Linked DNA regions of Homo sapiens: region 2 is linked to region 1. Evidence: promoter capture Hi-C in 16 types of primary human blood cells and fetal thymus (Javierre and others, 2016). All regions are on one chromosome and are shown on one strand. The core of a region is centred on a gene start or on the middle of the fragment in contact, and the rest is flanking DNA. Distances in the headings are between cores, read along the strand shown.

The links. The method cuts DNA at HindIII sites, captures the fragments that hold promoters and counts their contacts. A CHiCAGO score of 5 or more calls a contact.
Region 2: a contact is called between the fragment with the promoter of CNTN4-AS1 here and the fragment with the promoter of SETMAR in region 1, in 9 of 17 cell types (activated CD4 T cells, total B cells, total CD4 T cells and 6 more). The highest score is 14.1, in activated CD4 T cells.

The regions. Positions count from the first base shown.
Region 1 is chr3:4,302,087-4,304,668 of GRCh38, forward strand. SETMAR (SET and mariner transposase domain methyltransferase) reads left to right here and starts at 1,283. Exons shown (of 3, transcript NM_006515.4): 1 at 1,283-1,440. The coding sequence starts at 1,285. It also overlaps a transcript of SUMF1 not described here. RefSeq lists enhancers at 880-1,622, 1,651-1,720 and a silencer at 1,221-1,560. The HindIII fragment of the contact is 4,274 bases long and covers 68-2,582 here.
Region 2 is chr3:3,059,842-3,062,423 of GRCh38, forward strand. It overlaps CNTN4-AS1 (CNTN4 antisense RNA 1), which reads right to left and starts at 1,304. Exons shown (of 4, transcript NR_046554.1): 1 at 1,226-1,304. The HindIII fragment of the contact is 1,405 bases long and covers 241-1,645 here.

The sequences.
Region 1 (2,582 bases), core at 33-2,532:
GGTCAGAAGGGTTTGTGAACCCAAAATTATCTGAGACAGGTCTCAATTTAGAAAGTTTATTTTCCCAAGCTTAAGAATGCGCCCCCAACATAGCCTCAGGCAGTCCTGATGACATGTGCCCAAGGTGGTTGGGATACAGCTTACTCTCACACATTTTAGGGAGACATAATACATCAATCAATACATGTAAGATTGGTTGGATCTGGAAAGGCAGACAACGAGAAGCGGGTGAGGGGTGGCTTCCAGGTCATAGGTAGATTTAAAGATTTTCTGATTGGCAACTGGTTATTATCTAAAGACCTAAAATCAATAGAAACGAATGTCTGGGTTGCAATAAGAGGTTGTGGATACCAAATTTGATCGTGGAGATGAAGCCTCCAAGAGGTAAATTTCAGAGAACAGATTGTAAATGTTTCTTATCAGACTTAAGGTGTGTGTTGATGTTGATGCTGGCTGGCTTTTCCTGAATTCCAAAAGGAAGAAGGGCATAATGAGGCATGTTGGACCCCCCTTCCCATCATGGCCTGAACCACTTTCTCAGGTTAACCTTGGCAGAGAGGAGGGGTCCCTTCAGATGGTTTGGAGGATTGGAATTTTATTTTTGGTTTACAGTTTCAAGGAGAAGCAGGACAATCATGTCAGAGAGCTTCAGTGAGGTTGAAAATGCTCCACCGGATTCAGCAGTCTTGAGGCTATCAGAATCCTTTGGCAGGGCAGGGGTTTGGAGGGGTGAGGGTAGAGGGATGGAGAGGAGGGAAAAGGACAGGCAAAGGGGCACGGATACCTCCATCAGGGAGTGAGCATGCCCCCACACAAATTCCTTAAGGCACCCTGTGAGGCTATCGCCTTGGCACAAACCCTATCACATGTCAGTCAACTTCCCGGCAAGCCGCAGACCTTTAGAAACCTTGGTGTGCGTTTCCCCGCTCGGTTTAGAACGCACCCCTGCCTCCACTCCACAAACGTGCAGTGAGCCCTCAAAAACCTGGACAAATGACCTCACCTCGAAAGCCCCCTCTCTGATGCTCCCAGGAAAAACTAAAGCACCTCACTTTGTTTCGTCCGTACCTTACATGGTTTTGTAATTATCTGTGGTGCCTCTGGCTGAAATCAAAACGGGAGCCAGACCCAAAAAGTCAAGGAAGGGAAGCGCCTTCCAGGCCACTCCTGAGAAGAAACGAACTACAATTCCCATGAGGCGGTGGGGCCACGGGACCACAAGTCCCAGCATCCACCGCGCGGCCCAGGACTGTCAGGGTAGTGGGCGTTGCGTGAGGCGGGTAAATGTTCGCGGAAGCGGCAAAGACGACACGGCCTTGTGGGATGGCGGAGTTTAAGGAGAAGCCTGAGGCCCCGACTGAGCAGCTGGATGTCGCGTGCGGCCAGGAAAACTTGCCGGTGGGCGCGTGGCCCCCGGGGGCCGCGCCGGCGCCCTTCCAGGTAGGGGCGGGGCCAGGCGGCGCGGGAGGCGGGCGCGCGGCTCCCCCACGTGGTCTCCTCAAGCCGCCTCGCTGGGACGGCCTCCCAGTCGCGACCTTTTGTCTTCTCTTACAGCGCACCCGTTGGTGCGCGGGAATAGGTGTGCATGCCCCGGCCTGGGCCTTTTTCTGTTGACCCACGGCATCACCTTAGCAAGGGTGTTGTCCTTTTCAGTCCATTCCCTGAAGCGCAGAACCGGAGGCCTTGTGAGAACCTGGCTTTTTGTCCAGTCCTGTCCTCAGAACTCAAGGAGGCATCACGGGGGGAGTCATTTACCTCCCTGGTCTCAGGTGTCTCTCACAGGTAGGATAAGCCGTGGGGCCTATTAATGGATCGCAGCCGGTGTCGTGCATAAAAACAGCCCCTCGAGTCAGCCTTAGCTGTGGTCTCCCTCACGCTGTGGGCTCTTGGGCGAGTGTAAATTAGCTGTGGCTCAGCCTTAGAGTCTTCCAGCGTACAGTGGAACAGTACCTCTCTTCCGGAGTGCTTTGAAAATGGCAAGGAAAATACACTTTCCGGTTTGCTGTAAGAACTCAGTAAATGTTTGCTTCTATTAACTACCTCAAAGCCCTTTCTACTCTCCTTTTTCTTTTTGAGACTGAGTCTCGCTCTGTCGCCCAGGCTGGAGTGCACTGGCGCGATCTCGGCCCACCGCAACCTCCACCTCCCGGGTTCAAGCGATTCTCCTGCCTCAGCCTCCCGAGTAGCTGGGATTACAGGCATGGGCCACCACGCCCGGCTAATTTTTGTATTTTTAGTAGAGACAGGGTTTCTCCATGTTGGTCAGGCTGGTCTCGAACTCCCAACCTCAGGTGATCCGCCCGCCTCGGCCTCCCAAAATGCTGGGATTACAGGCATGAGCCACGCTCCCAGCCTCTACTGACTTTCTTATCCCTCCGACCTTGGCCTGAGCGTTACCCAAGGAATAAGGAATGACCAAAGATTTTGAAGTGGAAAGAGCGCTGGACGTGGAAGTTGGAGAGTATGGTTCGGAGCTTAGACATCTTAGCTACTTCCCAGAGCCTGAGTTTCTTCATCTGCAAAATGAAAATAATAATTTAAAAATGCATAGCCCCTTTAACATCCATTATCAACAATGAACC
Region 2 (2,582 bases), core at 54-2,553, 1.2 Mb before region 1:
CTTGAGATTTTTTTCTGAAGGAGGACCACTAGGAAAATTTGCTTTGCTTGTTTAACCTTTCAAAGTGCTTACTCTTGCCCTCCTTTTTGTGTGTGTAGTCCACTTGTGATTTAACTGTATGAAAGGAAATTCTATTGTGCCAGATATTTGGATTCTCTCAGTGTACCTACTTTCTATGGAGCCCACACATGCTACATACAAAGCAGCACCTTTCCATGGGCACAGAAGACATGGATGATAAGCTTCATTTCTCAGGTAAGCTCTGAATTCTTCCAGCCTGTGAGGTAGAAGGTGCATAGACTTTGATATTAAGAAAGAATGATTGTGTTATTCCCACCATCAAAATTGTGGTTGTTTATATCCAGGAGGCAATGTTAAATCCTGATTAACCTTTACCCAGTCTCTTCCACCACCTTGCCTCACTACAAATATGCGCAAAGAATGTTGAGTTATAAAAAGTATACAAATAGCACATAATTAGCAACAAAAATGTCATGCAGTTTTTAATCTAATGTAATCAACCAACAGGTGATTTTTGTTCACTACATTGGATTATCGATGCTACTGTTCTCCTCCGTTAACACTTATAATCAAGAAGTGACTGTTATTTTCCTGTTGTTACAATTTACAAAATGTTCTGGCTAAAAACGTTATGTGGCCAACCATAGTGCTTTGAAAGGCAAGCCTTTAAAATCAAGGACTTATATTCAATCTGTGGACATACCCCAGATTTTTCCATTACAAAATGCCAGACACTGAGGCCTTACAAAGGCAGCCTAATACAAAGACTAAGGACGTGGATCCTGGAGTTTGACTGCCTGGGGTGCATTGTAATGATTGGCTACTTATTAGGGAGGATAAAGTTTGTAAAGCTCTCCAAACAGTGATGATTTTACCGTCTGTTATTGTTCTTTTTCTCCAGGGACTTTACTAGACCCACAGATGTAGGATGTGGATGCTTCTTATCACCAAAATGAGTGGAACTCAGCTGACACATCCATTATCACCTTTTATTTAAACATGATCACTTCTTAATATAAATTTTAATGTTCGATAATTTTAATCATACAATCAACTAATTCAAACTTAGGCAGTAGGGTTCCCATTCAGATGCCAGGTTTTGCACAAAGCCTCCCTCAGCTTCCCCATCTGAAATTGACCTTGCATTTCTCTGACCTCCAGGGGATGGGGTCTGTACCCACTCATGTCAGTCATCCCTTCGTACCTTATATTTAAATCATTTTTGTTGGTGTCTTCCGCCTTATAGTAGACACACGGCACCTCAGCGTTGGCATCTGGGTGTGGTTCCTCATTGTGCTCCCAGGCACAAGGCCTGTGTCACCTCCATCTCAGACCTAGAGGGAGGAGAATATCTGGCCCCGTTTCCTGTGATTTCCTCAGGCCCCCTGCCAGAGTGTGATTAGTAAATGCAAGTCAGGCTGCCCATTCTGCAAAGAGGCCCCGTTTCCCCTTGTGCTAAATGGGCCATGCGGATTAAATGTTCCAGCTCTGCAACTCACCTGCAAACTACAATACTCAACAGAGATCACAGTTTAAACAAAATTGGCCTCTATCCTTTATCACAAGCAGTTATGGGCCATGGTAGATTAGCAGAGCTCTAGTGATATAGATCACATAGAGAGAAAGCTTTTTTTAAAAAAGGTCAACCATATGATCGATCTGAAAGTCTGGAAATTGGAAGGCTGAGCTACTTAAATATAGATGCAATTACATGTGATATCCCCATTCTCTGTAAACTGGGTTTTTGCCACATATCCTTATTGTTAGGAATAACACGAACTATACCAGGAAATATATATGTCCTAGGACTTTAACAAATAGTAATATCTTTAATTTGTTTTTCTAGTTTTCAAAGTGCTTTTCACACTAATAAGGGGAGGACATAGGTTTTTATTCCTTTTTTATTTATGAAATGGAAGCAAAGAGGTTATATAAGAAGCCCAAAGTAACATAGACAATTAGAAAGTCAGGGCTGGGCATGGTGGCTCACACCTGTAATCCCAGCACTTTGGGAGACTGAGGTGGGGGGATCACAAGGTCAAGAGTTCGAGACCAGCCTGGCCAACATGGTGAAACCCCATTCCTACTAAAAATACAAAAATTAGCTGGGCATGGTGGCACGTGCTTGTAGTCCCAGTTACCCAGGAGGCTGAGGCAGGAGGATTGCTTGAACCTGGGAGGCAGAGGTTGTAGTGAGCTGAGATTGCCCTACTGCACTCTAGCCTGGGCAAGAGAGTGAGACTCTGTCTCAAACAAAAGAAAAAAAAAAAAAGAAGGACTAGAATTTAGAACATAGACTCATTAGTGCATTTCATACACCTAGAAATAAGTACTTAGAGAAAGGACAGGATGGAGTAAGGAACTAGACTCTGAAGTTCAACTAGAGAACATTCTAGGACAAGTAGGTAGGCCAGAGGAAATGGTGAGGTAGAAGGGTGAGATGTCTGAGGTTCAGATGCTGGAGGTGGAGAAGTTCTGAGTGCCGGCCAGGCCCAGGGCACAGCCATCTGGAGGAATGGGATAGGATAGGTGCCTGGAGAGGGTTTTAGTTATTCAGCAAG